Regions from separate parts of the Homo sapiens genome. Here all the other regions are linked to region 4. Evidence: promoter capture Hi-C in 16 types of primary human blood cells and fetal thymus (Javierre and others, 2016). All regions are on one chromosome and are shown on one strand. Each heading gives the region's core, a stretch centred on a gene start or on the middle of the fragment in contact. The rest is flanking DNA. Distances are from core to core; before and after follow the strand shown. Region 1 overlaps C18orf54 (chromosome 18 open reading frame 54). Region 2 holds the start of MBD2 (methyl-CpG binding domain protein 2). Region 3 overlaps LOC124904307 (a long non-coding RNA gene). Region 4 holds the start of WDR7 (WD repeat domain 7). Region 5 overlaps LMAN1 (lectin, mannose binding 1). Region 6 overlaps SEC11C (SEC11 homolog C, signal peptidase complex subunit).

Region 1 (3,548 bases), core at 543-3,042, 2.3 Mb before region 4:
CGTTCCCTTTCCTAACTTAGCAGTCACAGAGCTATTTCCAAGAGTTGTTCTTAATTTCCTGTGCGATATTCCCATTGGCTATTTAACACTGAACATTCTGTTTTTGAATCAAAGTTAGTTAAAATTTGTTGTCAATAAGTTTAACATTCTGTTCTTCCGCGTGATGGATTTTCTTTTGGAGATTCGAACTGAAGCCTGTACGGAGGAAATGGTAAGATATATGGGATTTGCATGAGATATGTGGGGTTCAAAATAATCCTGTGGCTGAAGTGGGGAGAAGTGGGTGGGTCCCTACCCACTTTAGCTACAATTGGGGTCTGTTCAGCGATTGTTGGAAGCAGGATGATGAGTACATAGGGGTTTATTGAACGATTCTACTTTTGTATACTCTTTTGGGGAAAAGTTGGAAAACTTTTCATAATGAAACTTAAATTGTGCATTTTCTTTTTGTCTGTCCTGTGAGTTGAAATAACTAGTAAATGTTATCACCCACTTACGGAGACCAATACAACAGCTTTCTCTTTCAAGGTTTTGTAAAATAAAATCAGTAGCCTGTTCGGCATTCAAAGACAGAAAACATTTGGTCAGGCTTATCCAAACAAATTTACTTGAGTGAGTTTAAACTTCTTTAAATAAAAGGGATACGAAAAAGGTAAAGCTGGCTTAGTTTAGCCATTCGTCAGAGATATACCAGTATTACAGAATTCAGATAAATCAATGAGACGAAACAACTGTTACCTTATGTTCTGCCATTTGCACTGACCACGGTCAGATCTCTTGTAATGGCCATTGCATGCTCTAACGCTGTGGTAGGATGATGTTTTACTTTGTCTCTTATTTAATTAGAAAACTTTCGATGTTTTAAAGCCAAATTTAATAGTTACTAAGATTACATTAAAAGTTGTTATAACAAATATTTCTAAAATTATAGCCAAAAATTAAACATTATAACATCATAGCATATGTTAAGTCCTCAACATTAATACTTTTTTAGTATAGGAAATCCATTCATTTAATTTTAAAAAGAATGTCATCATGGACTGAATTAGTGCCGGTTCGTTCTGTGATTTCTTAGGTTTTCAAATATACATCCTGTTACTGTACTGAGGTAGACAGGGATTCTCTCAATTTTAATAATGGAAAAACAGAAGAACACATTGAGTTGATTTTCACATTATTTAAGCTTCCTTTGAAAGAGGTGAGCTGAATCCATTTAACATAAGAATTGAAAATAGGGAGGGTGGTACCAAAAACGAAGGTCAGGAAATGATTAACTATTTTAGGAAAAGTGTATATTGCTAACTCATTCCAGAATAAGACCTGCAGTTTATTTACAGTTAAATGTTGTAAATGTACTAGCATTTATAACATTGAAAGTGAATATTCTCCATTGTTCTTGTTTTGAATACTTCATTTGATGGCTTTAAAAAATTTATTGAGCGCTATTATCTGCAGCACATGGTAGTAGGCTTATGATTTGAAAAATATGATGTATAGGGGAATATTAGGTATTGTGATGTCATAGAATATATCACCATAAGAGAAAAGAGGTTCATAAGTAGTTTTTAGGACTTTTTAAGAAGTGAGTACTCTCTCCTTGGTATTTTCCATGTATATTCTCAGATAATTTTTGTATACATACTTCCAGCCACATAGTAGGTACTCAAAAAATGTTTTCTAAATCATTGATGAAGGAATTCACAATAATAAATATAACAAAAATCTACAATTCCTAACAAGGAGTGTCTGTTATAGATAATGGATTTTATTATTTAAAGAAAATTACAAAAGGTTTACATATTTAGTAATTTTGTTTGTGTATGGTCACTTTTAATTGGCATCTTAACATTTCGTTTTTGTATTACAGTTGTTTTTAAGGGAAATGAATAGAAACAATCCACTTTGAAGAAGCCATGGCGAAATCAAAGACAAAACATAGACTTTGTTCTCAGGAATCTTCAGTATCTGCCCTGCTGGCAAGCTGCACCCTGAGTGGTAGTAATTCCTCTAATTCTGATGGCTCGTTTCACTATAAAGATAAGCTGTACAGATCTGCTTCTCAAGCTCTACAGGCTTATATTGATGATTTTGATCTAGGCCAAATATATCCTGGTGCAAGCACTGGAAAAATTAACATTGATGAGGATTTTACTAATATGTCACAGTTCTGCAACTATATTTACAAACCAAACAATGGTATGCTTTTATTCTTTGTTTTCTTTGTGTTCAGATGTTTTGAAGCATTTGGGAGATGTACTGTAGTATTGTAAAGTTTGACATTATTTTTGTTACTTTGGAGTAAAAATAACATAATATTGAGATCTGGGTGTTTTTGTAAAATGATTATATAATTCTCTGTGGAACAGTAATATTCACAAGATGTTAAGAGTTTGTCCATAATAAAGCTTCCTTGAAGACAAGTTTGGAAAATGCAGTTGTTGATAAGTCAATTACTACTTTACTTAACACTTGCAGAATGACCCTAGAATAGAAAAAGTTTGTATTCAGTTCTTGGAGGGATGTGGTCAATATATTCCGGAAGCAAAGAATGAGAACAGCTGTTCTCTATGTATAATCCATGCCATTGAAGGGTTTGTAGGTGAGAAAACAAGTTATTTTTCCACCTAGTTTAATAGCATATTTTTTTCTATGCTGCAACCAATATTGAGTGACCAATGTTACTGTGATTGTATTAGTGTATCAGATATGTCTAGATGATGAAAGTTGAAGGAACAGTAAATTAGAGAACACAGGAAAATTCAGGAGGTTGGAGAGAAACGTAGAAATTAACACAGAACGAAGAATCGTGAGAAAAAAAGCACATCCTGTTTTATCCACCTACACCTTTTTATGCTTTTAATCAAAGCTTTAGTGAGGATAAGGGGAAAGCAGCAAAATGCCTCTTAAATTCTTAATTCTCATTTACTGTTGGATATTATAAAATATTTGTATGTAATAAACAAAACTGTTCTTCGTTTTTCAGCTTTTGAAAACCTTGATCACAAAAAGCACTCAAACTTCATATCCTGTAGAAGACACACCGTTAATGACATAGACTCCATGAGCCTAACAACTGATGATCTATTAAGACTCCCAGCAGATGGATCATTTTCTTATACTTATGTTGGACCGAGTCACCGAACGAGCAAGAAAAACAAGAAATGCCGTGGAAGACTGGGTTCATTGGACATTGAGAAGAATCCACATTTTCAAGGACCCTACACTTCCATGGGCAAGGATAACTTTGTTACTCCTGTTATACGCTCAAATATAAATGGAAAGCAATGTGGTAGGCTGAAAAACCCAAAACTTATGAATAGGACTAATAATTGCATTTCTGAATCATCTTTGTCTTTTCCCAAGAAATCGTCTTTCAAGGACAGTTCAGAACACAGTCTTGAAAAGAATTACCCAAGATGGCTCACTAGCCAGAAATCTGACCTTAATGTTTCAGGGATAACTAGTATACCTGATTTCAAATACCCAGTCTGGCTGCACAATCAAGACTTGCTACCTGATGCAAATAGTCAAAGGGTTTATCAGATATT
Region 2 (3,622 bases), core at 519-3,018, 2.4 Mb before region 4:
CATAAGCATGGTATGTGTACAGACACATTTTCCCAGAGCTACTTGAAGAGGACAGGAAATCCTTTATAACATTATTACAATAGCTAAATGACAATTGTCTCCAATACCCATATACATTCCCTGAAAAATGCTTCAGTCAGTCCACAAACACGTACCTCCAAACTACTGAATACAAGTTTATATTATCTTCTATCAATAGCATGGCTTATTACAAAATTTAGTAAATGTGTATTAAGTCCACGGATGTCAATTGCCATAGGCACTTTCTTGAGCTTACTGGGTCACACAAACTGAAGACATCAGCAGCATGACCACGGGATTGCAAGATTACACTAAGGTGAAAAACCTTGAATCATTTAAAACAGGATGTCTCAACCTCAGCACAGGTGACAATTTGGGCCAGATCATTCTTTGTTGTGGCAGCTTTCCTTTGTATTATCGAATATGTAGCAGCATCTCTGGCCTCTACCCACTAGATGCCAGTATCACACCCTCCCCAGGTGTGAGAACCGAAAATGTCTCCAGACATTGACAAATGTTCCCTGGGGAGCAAATTTTGGTCTAGGAGTCTAAAAACTTAGTACAGTGTGTCAGTTTCAAAAGAGTATATTCTGCAATACCAAGAAGTTCCAAAAAAACTTCAGGCATTCCAAATAGCTGCTTTATACAAAACTTTCTTGGATGAAGTAAATGAAACCTTGTTACTGTAGATAGCTCATTCTTCCACATGTGCATGCTTAACACTTGTGATGATGAATCTGGGACAGGCTGGGACAGGAGCCAACAGTGACTGGGTTTTATAGTTTCGATGAATTACACCTCCTTTTAACCCTTCAGTGGACTAACCATCCCTGCCAGGCTAACCCTTTCTTCGCAAACCATCTTCCCCGACGCCTTCCACATAAGATGCCCTCCTGCGGGCCCTCACCTTTTGACACTGCCTCCCACCGCACTGGGGTCAACTCTCACCCAAGGGTTCCGCCACCTTCCACCACCAAACCAGCCTGTCCCTGCCACATGCCCCCCGGGCCCCAGCGCTCATCCTCTGCCCAGGCCCGCTCTTGACCCCTGACCCCGGCCTGACCCCGCCACCCCCTCCCCGCCCCCAGGGAGGTACCTGAAGTAGTAGACATCGCTCTTGCCAGCACTTAGCCCAGATTTTCGGATCACTTCCTCCTTCTTCCATCCGGGGGGGAGGGCCGGGCAATCCATCCTCTTCCCGCTCTCCGTGGCCCGGGGTCCCCTGGGCCCCGGCCCCGCGCTCCCCGACGGGAAAGGGACCGGCTCCCGCCGGGGGGCGCCGCCGCCACCGCTGCCGCCGCCGCCGCAGCCGCCGCCGTCGCCGCCAAGGCCGCTGCCGCCACTCGGGGGACGGCCGCGGCCCCGGCCCCGGCCCCGTCCCCGTCCCCGGCCACGGCCCCGGCCCCGGCCACGGCCACAGACGCCGCCGCCCCGGCCCGCCTGCTTCCACCGCCCCCGGCCACGGCCGCCGCCCCGAGCGCCTTCCCTGCGCACGCCGCTCACCGGGGACGGGGCGAGCGCGCTGCCCTGGCCCCCCTGCTCTATGGCGGAGTCGCCGCCAGCGCCGCTGCCGCCCGCCGCACTCTCCCCCTCCTCCTGCTCCGGGCAGCAGCGGCCTCCCCCCGGGTGCGCGCGCATCCAGCCCCCTCCCCAGCCGGCGCTGCGCTTCTTCCGTAACCGAGCCCTTGGAATCCCGGAGACCCGCCCCGCCCGCAGCGCGGCGCGCGGGGGACGCGCGCAAGCATCATAGAGCGGGCGCGCACAGAGCGGCCCTCCTGCCCGGGGCGTGGCCCCGGCCACCGCCTCTTAGGTCCTCCAAGCGCTATGGGCGGCCATCTTGTCTCCGCCTTCTCGGGGCCACGCCCCCTCCCGCGCTTTTCCGGCCCCCACTGGGCGCGCGGAGCTGGGAAGGTTGGTCGGGCTAGCCACCAGCTGGGGGTGTCATAGTGACTGTGGTTAGTTTGTTTCAAACGGGGTAACCTCCACCATTATGTGATTTTACCTATGTTTGCTTCCCAATTAATGAATAACAAGCAAAATAGATCTTATATTACATACCAACTCGGCTATTCATTTAAGGGGGTGATAGCCCCTTTTCCCGCCCCTCTGCACAAAGCTTGCAGGGGAGCTTATAATGAAGGAATGAAGCAAAGTGTCCCATTCGCTGAATACCAGTTCCCTCCTGAGCCTGGCTTCAGAGCCATTGACAGATTCTCCTGGAACCTTGTAAGGATGTAGGAAAGGAAATGATAACTTGGAATATGCCCATGAGTCAGATGGGGCTTACCTCTAGATTCTCCTTAGAATGACCAGAATCCCTAAATCCATCTAGAAATTTCCAGATGTCTTTGTCTAATACAAAAATCAGTGGCCTTTTATTTGGTAAATATTCCATTATGTTGAAAGTCCAGCCTAACTTACTGTCACAAGCCTTTAGGAAACTGTGTGGTATTCTTTTCGGTCTGCCAACTTGAATTTTAGAAATGCATATTTTCTATAAGTTGTCGAACACTTATAGAAGTGTGCTATTGATATTCAAGATAATATATTATGAAATATTTGGAAGATTGAAAAATGTAAAGCACATGTTATCAGCCTGATGATAAGCTATCTTGGGTTTCTATACTCATATGCCCTAAAAACTGAGGACCAAGTTTAACGTATAGAAAAAGTTGATTAATATAAAGCAACAAAAATCTAAAATTAATTTGGTTTATCTTTGCAGTATATGCAAACATTAACTCATACACACAAACTTGTCTGTCTCTAAACCTGACCTTAGTCTTCTTTTAATGTCCTTTAGTTGAAAGACACTAATTTGTGGTTTCCTACAAGAAATTTAGAAATGTGAATGTAAAAAATCATCAAGAAATGAGTTCTGAGGAGATCAGTACTGGAGACATTCATTTAGAAGTCATCTGTGGGCCGGGCGCGGTGGCTCACGCCTGTAATCCCAACACTTTGGGAGGCAGAGGCGGGCAGATCACCTGAGGTCAGGAGTTCAAGACCAGCCTGGCTAACACGATGAAACTCCGTCTCTACTAAAAATGCAGAAAATTGGCTGGGCGTGGTGGCGGGCGCCCGTAGTCCCAGCTGCTCCGGAGGCTGAGGCAGGAGAATGGCGTGAACCCGGGAGGCGGAGCTTGCAGTGAACTGGATCACGCCACTGCACTCCAGCCTGGCAGACAGAGCGAGACTCTGTCTCAAAAAAAAAAAAAGAAGTCATTTGTGGCCGGGCGCGGTGGCTTACTTCTGTAATCCCAGCACTTTGGGAGGCCGAGGCCGGCGGATCACGAGGTCTAGAGATAGAGACCATTCTGGCCAACATGGTCAAACCCCATCTCTATTAAAATACAAAAATTAGCTGGGCGTGCTGGCGTGCGCCTGTAATCCCAGCTACTCGGGAGGCTGAGGCAAGAGAATCGCTTGAACACGGGAGGCGGAGATTGCAGTGAGTCGAGATCCCGCTACTGCACTCCAGCCTGGCAACCGAGCGAGACTCCGTCTCAAAAAAAAAAAGTCATTTGTGAAAGTGACAGTTGAAGGAGGCCCTGGAAGTAAGTAAGCTCTCCAAGGAAGGGCTTGCGTGGTTAATAATAAA
Region 3 (3,244 bases), core at 389-2,888, 2.4 Mb before region 4:
GGTGTTATGTGCCTGTAATCCCAGCTACTGGGGAGGCTGAGGCAGGAGAATTGCTTGAACCCAGGACGTGGAGGTTGCAGTGAGCAGAGATTACACCACTGCACTCCAGCGTGGGCGACAGAATGAGACTCCATCTGAAAAAAAAAAAAAAAAGAAATAAATAATATTTATTTACCGCAAGTATATTTTTGGTGGATTCTATTAAAGTACAAGGCATACACGTTTTCCACCCTAATATGTTCTAATAGGAGAGAGAGACATTAAAAACAAGTAAGATGTAAATAAGATAATTACATATTGGGATAAGTGTTATAAACGAAACTCAGTAAGATATGAGAGAATGTGGTAACTCTGGGGGAGGCCTTCTGAGTCAGTGCAGTTTGGAAAGGTCAGTCTGAGGTGTTGACATTTGAACAGAGAACTCAAAAAAGAGAACAAACCAGTTCTGTGAAAAACGTTCCAAACTTCAGAATGATTTGGAGGCAGAAAATTGTCCTGTGATGGTTAATTCATGTATCAACTTGACTAGGTCATGGTGGACCCAGATATTTGGTTAAACATTATTCTGGGAGTATCTTTGAAGTGTTTGTAGATGAGCTTAAAATTTGAATCAGCAGATGGAGTAGAACAGTTTTCCCTCCCCACGGTGGATGGGCGTCGTCCAATCCATTGAAAACCTGAATAGAACAAAAAGGTTGAGTTAGGGAGAATTTGCACCCTCTATCTGACTGTCTTTGAGCTGGGACATCAGTCTTCACCTGATGTTTTAGGCTTGGGCTGGAACTTACATCATCAGCTTTCCTGGTTCTCAGGCCTTCTGGTTCAGACTAGAACTATACCACTGGCTCTCCTGGGCCTCTGGGTATCCAACCCACAACTAATATGTGTCGCCAGAATAGAAAAGGGGCTAGAGGCTGGGCGTGGTGGCTGACGCCTGTAATCCTAGCACTTTGGGAGGCTGAGGCAGGCAGATCACCTGATGTCAGGAGTTCGAGACCAGCCTGGCCAACATGGTGAAACACCATCTGTACTAAAAATACAAAAATTAGCCAAGCATAGTGGTGCACGCCTGTAATCCCAGCTCTTTGGGAGGCTGAGGTAGGAGAATCACATGAACCCAGGTGGCATGGGTTTCAGTGAACCAAGATCGTGCCACTGCACTCTAGCTGGGCTACAGAGCAAGACTCCATCTCAAAAAAAAAAAAAAAGAAAAAAAGGAAAAAAAAAGGGGCTAGAGTAGCCCAAGTGTAGGAAAAGATGGTCACTTGCTATGAGAAGTAGAGAAGAGATGGAGCCTGCTCCATCAGGGCCTTGAGGACCATGGCGAGTAAAGGGTTTGATTTTTACTTTAGGTATTGTAGGAAGCCTTTGAAGGATTTTTGGCAGGAAAAGGAAATTAGATATTACATTTTTAAAATATTATTCTGGCTGTCCTAAGGCTCACAGATTGTAAAAAGCAGATACTAGGAGCCCAGTACAGCAGGCCAAACCAGAGATAACTGTATGTATGTGGGCTGGGGCGCGGGGGTGGGGGTAGTGTCAGTACAGACACAGAGAAGTAGAGGGATTTGAGAGAACATTTGGAGGTAGACCCGACAGGCCTCATGTGTCATAATGTGCTTGTAAATAAAGTCTGCAAGTTTCAGTCATTGAGAGAAAGGGAACTACTTGATGTAATACAGAAAGTGCAAGCAGATTAACATAGATCAGGCACACTGTGTTAAATTTATAGACATCTAACTTTAATGTAATTTTTTAAGTACCTCATTTTTTGTTTGTTTTTGGAAAACAATGTCCCTCTGTTGCCTAGTTTGGAGTGCAGTGGCGTGATCATAGCTCACTGTAGTCTGGACCTCCTAGGCTCAAGCAATCCTCCCACCTCAGACTCCTCAGGAGCTGGGACTACAGGCACACACCATCATGCTTGGCTAATTTTTAAAGTTTTGTAGAGATGGGATTTTGTTATGTTGCCCAGGCTGGCCTTGAACTCCTGCACTCAAGCAATCCTCCTTTCTTGGCCTCCCCAAATGGTAGGATTACAGGTGTGAGCCACTGCATCCAGCCAGTACCTCATTTTTTTAATTGAAAAAGTAATCCATGATTATGATGGAGAATTTGGAAAATATAACATTATTCTAGAATTTTAGGAGATTGGATGTGTCTTAGGGAAGGGTGGGATCAAACCCATGAAGAAGGGCACAAAGGTATATGAACAAGAATGTTCACTGCAGCATTACTGGTAACAGCAAAAAATCAGAAATAAGTGTCCATGATTATGGAATTGGTGAAACAATGTAGCCATTAAAAAGAATGCAGTACATTTTTGTGCACTGAAAGGAAATGGTGTTCAAGATATACTAGGTAAAAAAGTCTAATGCAAATAGTATACATAGTGTGATCCCACTCATGTGAATTAGAATATTTTTCATTGTGTCTTCCTTATACTAAGAATATTATAAATAAAAGCCTAAATGTATCAAATTTTGTTAGCAATGGTCACCTCAAGGTGGAGTGGGGATTAGGAAGGATTTTAACTTTATGGTTTATACCTTTTTGTTTTAGTAAGATTTCTTAAACAATGGATATGAAGAAAAAAAATTTTTAAGTAGACACAGAAGCAGTAATTTTAGGATCAATAAGTACTTCAATGAAGTCTTTGAAGCAACAGTAAGAAAAAGTCCTATAAATATAAGCATTACTTTTCTTTATAGAGAGTTTATATTAATCTCAAACCAGAAAAATGGAGATTATTAAGTTGAATTTGTTAGCATTTCCAAGATGAAGTTGAGACTGTCTTTATTCATGTTCTTCGAATTAACATTAAAAACAAATACATGGATAGAACGTTTTCTGTGTCATTTATTTAGGCAATGCATCTTACAGTGGTTTTCGTGGTTTGGTAAATAAATACACAAATTTATTCATGGAAAATACAGAAAATTAGTGGGGCATGGTGGTGCACACCTGTAATCCCAGCTACTTGGGAGGCTGAGGCAGGAGAATTGCTTAAACCTGGGAGGTGGAGGTTGCAGTGAGCCAAGATCGTGCCACTGCACTCCAGCCTGCGTGACAGAGTGAGACTCTGTCTCGGGAAAAAAAAAAAAAAAAAACCGCAACTTTCTTTTTGTCATGCTTTGTGAAAAAATGATTAAAGCATGGTTTTCTGAGCATCAAGATTATGGATTATTACAGATTATTTCCATCATTTTCTTAAGTCCTATGTTTTTCAAATTCTCTATAATAA
Region 4 (3,662 bases), core at 1,000-3,499:
GCTTAAGAAGTCCAGAAGGTACTGGTGTGCTGTAGGGTAATTTGCTACTAAATTCTCAAACCCCCAACCTTGCGATCTGCCTGCCTCGGCCTCCTAAAGTGCTGGGATTACAGGCGTGAGCCACTGTGCCCAGCCTGCTACTAAATTTTAAGGACAGAGTAGTACTTAAGTTTTAAAAATGCCACTAAAGCTGGGTGTGGTGGCTCACGCCTGTAATCCCAACACTTTGGGAGGCCGAGACAGGCCAATCTTGAGGCCAGGAGTTCGGGACCAGTCTGGCCAATAGAGTGAAACCCCATCTCTACTAAAAATAAAAAAAATTAGCCAGGTGTGATGGTGTGCACCTGCAATCCCAGCTACTCGGGAGGCCGAGGAAGGAGGATTGCGTGAACCCAGGAGGTGGATGTTGCAGTGAGCTGAGATGGTGCCATTGTACTCCAGCCTGGGTGACAGGGCAAGACTCCATCTCAAAAAATATATATATATATGCCTCTAAAATGGTGAAATTCCCGATTTTATCCTGTGGGTCTCATTTATGATTCTTTTGCAGTGATAACCATACATTTTTGGTTACAACAACAATGACGACATCTCACTTGTCTCCTTGCTTCCCTGTATTTCCCACCTGATTTACATGGCACATTGCTGCCAAATTAATATTTGTGGCTGGCCCATCTTAAGTGACCCCGATAAGTCACACTCTTGTATAATCCTTTCTCCTTGAGTACAGATAAAACCCGTGACTTACTTTAACCAATAATATATGGCAAAGGTGATGGCTGTCACTCCCTAATTTAGGTTATCATCTACATCCATTTCCATATCTATGTCCATGTCCATATCCATGGCTGTATCTATATCTGTGTGACTCCTTTCTTGTGCTCAGTAGAGAGATTCTCCTTGCTAGCTTTGAAGGAGTATGCTGCCATGTTGCGAGAGAGCCTTTAGTAAGGCCCATGTGGTAAGGAACTGTGGGTGGCTGCTAGGACCTGATGGCCACTTCCAGTTCAGAGCCAGTAAGAAGCCAGGGCCCCTAGTCAGACAGCCACAAGGAACTGAATGAGCTGACAGGAGTTTGGAATCAGATTCTTCCCTAGTTGAGCCTCCAGATGAGAATTGCAGTTTGGCTGACATCCACTTGTAGCCTTGTGAGAGCATGAGCACAGGACTCAGCTAACCTGTTCCTGACCTCCTTGCCCATGGAATGTGAGGCAATACATATGTGTTGCTTTAAGCCACTAAGACACTAAGACTGTGATAATTTGTTGTAAAGCAATTTTAAAAACCTGAATACCATGTGGTTAGGAAAAGTGCTACACTATTTATTAGTCAAAAGTCTTCAATTACTTTTCATTGTCTTTGGAATAAAGACCAAAAAGCTTATATGGCCACTAAAAGCCTCTTGTTATCTACATTATTCTATTTTTCCATGTTACTTTTTTATTACCTGGTCTAGGCCGAATGTGATGAAGTCTCTATCAACCCACAAGAGAGCTCCAGGGCATAGACTGCCTGTTAAAGGAGCCGCTCACGGAGCAGAAACAGCTAAGCCCTGATACCACATTTTCCCACTTCACCTACTTCACGTCCCTTGTATTTCTTCCAAATTTAACTTTCTATTTATTGCATATATTCATGTTTTACATTTCAATGCTGGTGACAAAGTTGTTTTCCTTTCCCAATTATTATTCCAAATCTGACCAATTTTTCTAGACTTCCATATGACCTAATGTGATTATCCTTCCTTACCCCAACCTAGAAATAATTCATCTCTTTTCTTCCTTGCTCCTTATTTGGCATTTCTCATCCTGCACTATACTATAGCTTATCTATCTTGGGGGACATTTGTCATTCTTTTTAGCTTTCCAGCATCCAACATACTTTCCAGTGTTTAGGGAATTCCCTACCTCTTGCATCTCAGTGGGAAGCAGTGTGATGGGGTCAGAAGTGTAAACTTGCGCAACATCCTGCTCCCAAGAAAGACGTGCACTTGCTACTTCATCCTTCGCTCCATCTTGGTCCTCCCAACTGGAGAGAGGACAGCCTAGACGAGACTTCCCACAACCAAGATGGCGGCCGTGCACTCCTTGCCCACAGCTGGCCTTTTCTCCACTTTCGGTCTCCATCGTAACGCGGCTGGCTCTCTCGGCGCCGGCTTAGGCCTTGCAAGTAGGGAAATGGTGAGTCTTTCCCGCCCCCTCATTTTTGCGACAGTTGCAGCGAAAGTCACGGCAGTTGGGGCTGGTGTCAGCTGATTTACTGCAGTGGCGGCGGCGGCGGCACCGGCACCTTGCAGTATCACTGGGGAGACGGCGGCTGTATAGCGCTTGCCGCCCCACGGATTATCCCAGCAGGATCTACGCACCCCGCATCCTCCGTAGTTCCGCCCTATCCTTGTCCTCCTTGGCTGGGGCGCCCACCGGCGGTCTGATAGGCTACATCGCGGCATGAGATGAAGCTGTGACAGGTAAGGGGGCTTTCAAGCTTCTCCATGGGAAACCACAGGGCGGGATGTTCCTGCACCGTGGAGGTCAGGGGTCAGGGGTCAAAGGTCACAAACCCGCTCTAGCCGGGGGCGGTGCTAGCTGTCAGATCGCTGCGGCTGCAAGCCTGCAGGTCGGGCCCAAAAGTAGGCGCCGTTACCAAGAGCGTGGGGGCCAGCCGGGGGTCTTTGTGGCTCCCTTGCCTGGTGAGTGATATTTGCTACTTGTGACAGTTGCTTTGGTCTTGAGGTGGGACTGCCTGGTTCCCAGGTGCAATCTAAACGGGATCAGGTGATTGGTGATGATCGTTGGTGGTTATTGACAGCAATTTTGGGCGATGTGCTTGCTTTTGGGGTTCATATAGTCTTTCCTTTCCTGTTGGTACTATTTTTGCCCATGCCCAAGGTACTGACACCACTGTTAGAATTTCATTTTTGAGATGCCATCTGCCAGTTCTTATCCCTTTGCCCTAGTACTTGTCTGAGCGGATGCCAGTCACTCCCATTCACTTAGTGATGGGTCCCAGCGTTCTGAAGCTATGTTTGAAGTCAGCACTACCCTAACTTTGATTCAAAAATTGCTGTTTTATGTTTTTTACCCACTTAGTATGTCACTTTTTGAGGCAGAATTTGCTGGGTTAGATAGTCTGAAACTAGGGAACCTACCGTCGCATGACAGGCTGCATTGATATTGTTGATGCTGCTGAATTTAGGGTTCGGTCAGTGGCAGCTATAGCTTCCTCTCACTGTAATATTTGCCATGAGACAAAAAAAGGCAAACTGACTCTTTCAGGTGTTTATGTCTTAGGATTTTATGGGCAAGGTTGCAGGAATTGCCTGTTGTATGAAAGAAATTAACTGAGTTTTTGACATTTTGTAAAACAAAAATTTTAGTTTGACTCTGCTTCTTGCTTTATAAACAAACTCGTGGCTGTATGAAGGTCAGCTTAAAAGTGAACATAATGTGTTGAAATGCCCTCATTATTACAAAGAATAAAAAACTGTCTAGTTCCATCCAGAACAATACATATTAGTTATTATAAATTGGGAAAACGAACCACTATAAATATAATTAATGCTTTATTATTAATGTCAATTAGGGATTATGGTAGAAAATTCATTTATTTTACTGCCAATCCTTATTTTAAGAGTGTTTCAGAGAAATACTTTAAGAGAAAAA
Region 5 (3,414 bases), core at 710-3,209, 2.7 Mb after region 4:
TCTTTATGAGATCATCAATAACCTTCCTTATTCACCTTATGGTTTCAAACCATTGTTAAAGACTACACTTGCAATATTTAAGATCTCTTGCTTTGGCTGTGTTTCCCCCACCAACAGCACTTATTGCTTTCAACCTCCTCTTACTTTGTTTTTCCCTCCAATGTGGAAACAACTGGGACAAGCTAGGGTGCAAGTACTCATGAAAATAAATACTTCTTGAGCACTTCACATTGGCACAATATTAGGAACTAGGAGAAATACAGGATATGCCTATTGTGAGAAGTTTACAATCATATTGATAAGAAGAGATATACATATAGTTAATAAGCAAATCAGTACAACATATCTCAAGGCCAAATAAGCATTAGAGAAAAAAAAATACTCTAAGAGTTTAGGAGAGACAGATCATTATGAGCTGTTTAGGAAATCTGATAGAAAAGGGATCTGAATTTGTGTGCTCAAAGCTAAGTATGACTTTAACAAGTAGAAAGAAAAGGAATTATTACCAGACTGAGATGTACAGAGAGGTGAAAACCAATAAGTAGCAGTCACGTGTCCAGCCAGTCTCTTCAAAACGTGTACCTGAAAACACTAGCTCCATGATCACTCATAGACATTAGGTGAAAAAAAATTCCATAGTTAAGTCAGTCTGGGAAATGTGAGGTCTAATAAAGGTTTATTTATCCTTTCTTTATAAAGGATCCTTCATAAAGAAATCTTTAATGTGCTAATATGCAGAGTAGTGACCAATCTCATCAATTGTGGAACCCTTTCTGGGGAGTACGTTTTGCAAGGCTATTGTTTTGGAGTGCTGCCAGGGCTCACAGCCTCACGGTGTTGGGTCACACGGACAGTCTGCACCCACCATGCTTGATGTCTGGGCTTTGCTACATGCAGGTAAGCAAGACTTACTGATGACTCTAATGAAACTGTACAGGGTGAATAATTATAGTGGAATTCAAACCCAAGCTAATTATAATACATTGGACACTTGCTCTATTCTAAGATCTCTAAATTAGCTTGGAATTAAGACTAAGCCAATACAGTTTTCCACAGAACTAACTTTCTCAGAGATTTAGACCCAGGAGTGTAAGTCTAGCTCATGATTTAGGTGAAAGAAAAATTCATACACTATTTTTTTTACTTTTAAGTATTATATAACCAGGTATTAATGGCATCTTTAAAAAGCAAAGTTTACAATGCATAGTGATCTTAGTTATCATAACTGCCAGTTAGATATCTCCACCTATATGTTATGCTAACCTCAATTTACCTACAACTAAACTCATTACCAACCCTCTGATTTCCCATTCCTCCCCCAAACAGATAAAACACAAACAAATGTGCTGCTTCTTTGCTAGTAAATAGTACCAATTAGCTGTCCAATTGGCTATATTCAGGAACTCTCCTTGACTCAACAACTGTGTTCACCCCTAACCCCAAGAAAACTGGTACTAAGAATACTGGGACCTAAGTCATCTTTCTAAATTGCAAATCTGATAATTTCACTTCCTGCTTAAAACCCTTTAAACATTTTTAAAAGCTTCTTATGGGTTAAACTACAGGAAGCTGTGCAAGGCCTGTTACTGCCCTTTCAACCTCACTGCTCACTGATCTCTTCTATCTCCCAGCCACACCAAACTACATGCCTTTCCAAAATATTTCAAGCTCTCTCAAGGGCCTATGCCTGCTTTCTGTGCTTGGAGTACACCCACTCACTCGCACACACACACACCCTCTTCCCCCAACTCCCAGGAACTTCCTGATCTCCCTGTAGGGCACAGCTCAACTCTGAGAAAATGTTCCTGCCCTTCCCCACCTCCACCTGGCAGTTACAGGATTCTAACCACAGGACCGCTTGATAGTGTCTGCAACGCAGCATTTATCACACAGCATAGGAATGATACATTTGTGTGTCCTCTGTTAGGCTATAAGCTCTCTGGGGAGAAAGTCCATCTGTCTTACTCATATTTGTATCCTGAAGGCTTGGAGATTATCCGTCTATCTATCTATCTACCTATCTATCTATCTATCTATAGATATATATATCTCTCACATGTGCTATACAGTAGGGGGCTTAAACATTTACTGACTAAATGGAAACATACCATCAGGGGTTTACAACAGATGACCACTTACACTGAGCTGTGAAGCCACCTCCGTTCTCTTAGAGTAACAATGAAGAGTATGTAAGCATATCCAAATTTAAGTGCATTTAATTTCTATCAAAAATTCAAAATGAAAAGTGATACTGTAACATTGTTTATTTGATTCTCTCTAAATAGATGTTACTTACTGTCAGTGTGTTCTGGTAATAGGTAATCTTTGCTCGGACAGGATAGGGTTTGTTGCGGAAGTCCCTCTGGCAACTTGCCAAAGCTTGACTAGCCCCGTCACTATAGTGTAAGGGGGAGGAAAACAGACAAGACACTCAGCTTTTCAATATTTAAAAATTCAGGAAGACTAAAATAATATCAAGTTATGAAAAAGTCTTGAGATACTTTATGTTATTTACTCAAAAGACTACACGAGACTACATGAGACTAAGGCAGTGAATCTCTACCCTAGGGCAGAACATGAATCACTCTCTGGGCTTTTAACATGTAGATTCCACTCCAAATCAACTGAAGCAGAATCAAAAGGAGGTGGCCTAGGCACCTCCATTTTAAATAGCTCCATAGGGAGTTATGATGAACTACCAGGGCTGAAACTCACTAAGGCAGAAAAACAGTAAACAGGCACATGGATAAGTCACCTTTCTTACAGTTCACTGGTTAAAAGCTATTTCCTCCACAACAAACACGTGAAAATAAAAAATGTACATACCTAATTTATATACATTATAAATATACAGTCATCCTTCAACATCCATAGGACATTGGTTCCAGGACCCCTGTGGATACCAAAATCCTCAGATGCTGAAGTCCCTTATATAAAATGGCACAGTATTTACATATAACGTGTACATATCCTCTTGTATACTTTAAATCATCTCTAGATTACTTATCACACCTAATATGATGTAAATGCTTTGTAAATAGTTGTTACAATGTATTTTAAAATTTGTATTCTTGTTGCGTACACAAAATAATTTGTATTATTTTTGATCTGCAGTTGGTTGAATCCACAGATACGGAACCCACAAATACAGAGGGTTGACTGTACTGAACACTTAGAATCTCTGCAAACCACTGAGTCTTTAAATAACACAATATTGAAGTTAAATAAGATGGCATAAATTGCTTAATCATCAGCCTTAATAATCAAGGCTCAACTTTATTTTTTAAAGATCCCTTTTAATGAAGATAAAAATGCATGATTAGTGGCATCACTGAGAGCCAGGAACAGTCTATAAACTTTCAAAAGTATATTATTAAATAATTTGAGGTTAAATTAAAAACACATACCATGGTT
Region 6 (3,682 bases), core at 119-2,618, 2.5 Mb after region 4:
TAAGACTGTAATAAATGTCTTCGGGCCATAATTCTCAACCTGCCTTTAGTTTATACTGAATTCCTAGAAGTAGGATTATGGGCCAAGAGTAACCTCTTAATACTAATGCCAAATAGCTTTCAGAATGGTTTATCAATTTGTATCCCCATCACAGTGTATTCTTGCTAGCACTAAGTATTAGTATTAACAACAACAATAAAAAAACCAGACACTTTAAATTTCTTAGGCAAAGGCTAGGTGTGGTGGCTTACGCCTATAGTCCCAGCACTTTGGGAGGATTGCTTGAGGCTAGTATGTTCAAGACCAGCCTGAGCAACATAAAAAGACCCCATTTCTACCAAAGAAAAAAATTTAGAACTACCCAGGCATGCCAGCACATGCCTGTAGTCCAGCCACTTGGGAGGCTGAGGTGGGAGGATCCATTGAGCCCAGGAGTTTGAGGCTGTGGTGAGCTATGGTTGCACCACTGCACTCTAGCCTAGGCCACAGACTGAAACCTTGTATCTTAAAAAAAAAAAAAAAAAAAAAAAGTTGCTAGAAACAAAAAAAAAGGAAGGGGTTGCAAGGAGGGTAGAGGCAGGATTATTGGTTTGAACATTTTTTATGTTTATTTACTACTTGTATTTTCCTTTGGAAAATTATAGTTTTAAGCTTTTACCTTTTTCTGTTGGAATTTTAGTGTTTTTCTTATTGCTGATTTGTTTGCACTCACCATTAAAGATGTTTATTTTATCACTATTTATTCAACAAATTGAATACTTAACTTTTGCCAAACCCATGTTGAATCTTGAGGATACAGCTATGAGCAAGGCTGAAATGATCCCTACTTTTGTGGAATGTAAGGTCTAATGCAAAAGACACATTAGGTAATTATATGCTTAATTATGATGCTGATGAACGATACAAAGAAATACAGGATGCAGTGAGAATATATAATAGGAAGACCTAGGCTGGCCAGAGTGGAGATTGGCAAACCCCATTGCACCACCTGTTTTTGTAAAGTTTTATTGGCACACGGCCATGCTCTTTCTTTTACATATTGTCTATGGCTGCTTTCCCGCTACATTGGCAGGGCTGAGTAGTTTCAATGAGACTATGTGACCCGTAAACATAAAATATTTACTGTCTAGCCCTTTACACAAAAATTTGCTGATTTCTGGTCTAGCCAGTCAGGGCAGGGTTCTGTTGGACACTGACATTTAAAGGTGGATGTAAAGGTGAGTGTTTGGTAAACTAAGGGGTTCAGGGAGGGAGCCTTCTGGGTAAAGGCCCTGGGGTGGAAAGAAGCATGTGAGGTGGAAGCATGGACAGATACCACCAGTGCAGCTGGGGTGAGGCGAGCTTCACAGGCTGAAGCGGGGCTGCAGGGTTATATCAGACAGGGCCTTAGAGGCCATATTGTAGTTTAGTCTTCATCCTCAGAGTAGTGGGATGCAATCAAAGGGCTTTAGGCAGGGCATAGACAACCAGGTGACCAGATGTGCATTTGAAAACCAGTACAGTCAAGCACCATATAATGATGTTTCCATCAATGGTGGACTGCATACATGATGGTGGTCCCAAAAAATTATACCATATTTTTACTGTGCCTTTTCTATGTTTAGTTACATAAATACTTACCAGTGTGTTACAGTCGCCTGCAGTATTCAGTACAGTAGCATGCTGCACAGGTTTCTAGCCTAGGAGCAATAGGCTACATCGTATAGCTTAGGGGTATAGTAAGCGACACCATCTGGGTTTGTATAAGTACACTCTATGATGTTCAAACAACAATAAAATCACCTAACAACGCATTTTTCAGAATGTGTCTGTCATGAAGTGGCGCATGACCGCCCAGAGTGTATCACAGAGAATGGATCAGAAGAGGTGTGCATGGGCATTAGGAGACCTGTCATGAGGCTTCACAGCAGCCTGATGGGCCCCGTTGGTGATATGATGAGAGTGGCAGCAGTGGGAATAGAGAGACCTGGACAAACTCCAGACGTGTTTGGAAAGCCAGAATGTATAGAATGAATGGGTAGGGGGTGGCTCCAAACAGCAGGGTGATAATAATGTCATTTACTGAGAGAAGGATCCCTAATACTGAAAGCTTTTGGAGAAGGTAAGTTTAATTTTGACATGTTGAGGATGGGGTATCTTTAAAGACATCTAAGTGGAAACATCAGGTAGGCAGTTGGAAGTCTCTGAATTGGGAGTAGTTAGCCTGATGGGACCAATGCCAGCATTCAGGTAGAGGAGGAGATTCAGGTAGAGGAGGAGCAACTGGCAGGAAGACAAGAAAGTGGTGAGAAGTGGATGGCATGCCATCCTGGAAGGCAGGGGCTGAGGGTTCGAAGAAATGATCATGTGTGTTGAGAGCTGCTGGAAGGTCAGGTAAGGTGAGGGCCGACAGTTATCCTTTGGATTTAGTGAGCATGTGACTGACTATGTAGGTTGAGGACTGAATATAGATGGTGAAGAAGGGGAGCAACTTGGGGTAGACACTGTTTTGAGAAGAGCTGTGAAGGAGAAGAGAGTGTGAAAGCTGGAGGAGGATGTGAGGTGGAGGAAGGGTTTGCGATGGGAGAGTCTTTAGCTGATGGGAGGAGGAGGTATAGAGCCGTGATTCAACTTTCACTGCACCTCAGAATCACCCCACCCCTCCCAGTGATCCAGCTGGTCTGGGATGGACTTTCCAGGGCTTCCCCGATGATTCTGAGGTGCAGCCAAGGTTGAGAACCAATGGTATAGAGCAGTGGTTCTCAGCTGTGATTCCCACTCCAGCAGCTTTCGTGTCACCTGGGAATGTGTCTGAAGTGCAGTCCTCAGGCATCGCCAGCTGATCCTAGTGCACGCTGATGCTTGCGCTGCTGCTGTAAAGAACTGTCCGGACACTGAGAAGTCAGAACCACGTAGAACCACCTGGCAAAGTCTCCATTTGGACTTCCCGAGTGTCTTTCACTCCGACTTTTCCAGGCCTTGTGTATTTTAAACTGTATTTAAACTGTGTTTAAAACTGTATTTTAAGTTGTACTCAATGCTCAAAAAGAGTTCATACCACCACATTCCATCTCAGTTAATATTAAATTTGGATAGTTGAGGAAAATGATGTTGCCCAGAGCCACGTGATCCAGGTCCTCACTCCAAACTCAATTCAAAAGTATGTTCTGGAAAGCTGGTAGGGAGCTAAGGTGGGATCTAACCTGTCTAACATCACTGCCTCCAAAACACTAAAACTATATTAATAGCAAGGAGAGTTTAGAAGTTATCAGTTACTCCAGGATACGCCCGGGAAAAGGAAACAAGATCAGCCAAATACTAGAAGCTGGAAAACAGATGGAAGAATGGGAACTGGCACAGCCAGAGAAAGCCAGGATGTGAGCGGCACTGGGGGAGGCTGTGGCTCTTCAGGTTTGTGAGGCAGAGAGAGTCCTCAGAGACCCAGGAATTGGTGTCCCCAGAACTGAAGGTGAAGGGGACCGTAGGGCTGAAATCAGTTTGATTGGGTAGAAAAGCAGAGAAGCAGTGAGACCCCTCGCTCTCCTTGTCTTCCACCCAGAGGCCTCACCCTCCTCAGCAGAGGTCTGGGAGTTCATTCCCTGGAGAGGGGAACAGAAATCTCTGGAGGAAAAGCTGCCAGGCCTGGTGGGGGTTATGGCTCCCACCCTATAAGTGACTGTGCACACTGCATGCTGAGGGTATA

Evidence for each region. Contacts are between HindIII fragments. The CHiCAGO score rates a contact against its expected background, and 5 or more counts as called.
Region 1: a contact is called between a fragment that was not itself captured here and the fragment with the promoter of WDR7 in region 4, in 2 of 17 cell types (fetal thymus and non-activated CD4 T cells). The highest score is 9.7, in fetal thymus.
Region 2: a contact is called between the fragment with the promoter of MBD2 here and the fragment with the promoter of WDR7 in region 4, in 10 of 17 cell types (naive CD4 T cells, total B cells, activated CD4 T cells and 7 more). The highest score is 13.9, in naive CD4 T cells.
Region 3: a fragment that was not itself captured here is called in contact with the fragment with the promoter of WDR7 in region 4 in 1 of 17 cell types (M0 macrophages); the score reaches 5.5 in M0 macrophages.
Region 5: a fragment that was not itself captured here is called in contact with the fragment with the promoter of WDR7 in region 4 in 1 of 17 cell types (activated CD4 T cells); the score reaches 8.0 in activated CD4 T cells.
Region 6: a contact is called between a fragment that was not itself captured here and the fragment with the promoter of WDR7 in region 4, in 1 of 17 cell types (activated CD4 T cells). The highest score is 5.2, in activated CD4 T cells.

What each region holds. Positions count from the first base shown.
Region 1 is chr18:54,358,660-54,362,207 of GRCh38, forward strand. It overlaps C18orf54 (chromosome 18 open reading frame 54), which reads left to right. Exons shown (of 9, transcript NM_001288980.2): 2 at 115-211; 3 at 1,868-2,196; 4 at 2,984-3,548. The coding sequence starts at 1,914. Among named protein-coding and RNA genes, the nearest start is that of C18orf54, 2.5 kb to the left of the region's middle. RefSeq lists an enhancer at 1-262. The HindIII fragment of the contact is 1,222 bases long and covers 1,182-2,403 here.
Region 2 is chr18:54,222,901-54,226,522 of GRCh38, forward strand. It overlaps MBD2 (methyl-CpG binding domain protein 2), which reads right to left and starts at 1,769. Exons shown (of 7, transcript NM_003927.5): 1 at 1,118-1,769. The coding sequence starts at 1,659. RefSeq lists a silencer at 1,470-1,859 and enhancers at 2,610-3,152, 3,153-3,622. The HindIII fragment of the contact is 9,949 bases long and covers 1-2,135 here.
Region 3 is chr18:54,260,485-54,263,728 of GRCh38, forward strand. LOC124904307 (a long non-coding RNA gene) reads right to left here. Exons shown (of 2, transcript XR_007066379.1): 2 at 1-677. Among named protein-coding and RNA genes, the nearest start is that of POLI, 7.4 kb to the right of the region's middle. RefSeq lists an enhancer at 1,669-1,728. The HindIII fragment of the contact is 7,662 bases long and covers 1-3,244 here.
Region 4 is chr18:56,649,110-56,652,771 of GRCh38, forward strand. It overlaps WDR7 (WD repeat domain 7), which reads left to right and starts at 2,250. Exons shown (of 28, transcript NM_015285.3): 1 at 2,250-2,467. RefSeq lists an enhancer at 1,981-2,370. The HindIII fragment of the contact is 1,105 bases long and covers 1,378-2,482 here.
Region 5 is chr18:59,350,906-59,354,319 of GRCh38, forward strand. LMAN1 (lectin, mannose binding 1) reads right to left here. Exons shown (of 13, transcript NM_005570.4): 5 at 2,297-2,396. Among named protein-coding and RNA genes, the nearest start is that of LMAN1, 6.7 kb to the right of the region's middle. The HindIII fragment of the contact is 836 bases long and covers 1,542-2,377 here.
Region 6 is chr18:59,144,220-59,147,901 of GRCh38, forward strand. The region is part of intron 1 of SEC11C (SEC11 homolog C, signal peptidase complex subunit); the gene reads left to right. Among named protein-coding and RNA genes, the nearest start is that of SEC11C, 6.2 kb to the left of the region's middle. RefSeq lists an enhancer at 324-373. The HindIII fragment of the contact is 1,438 bases long and covers 650-2,087 here.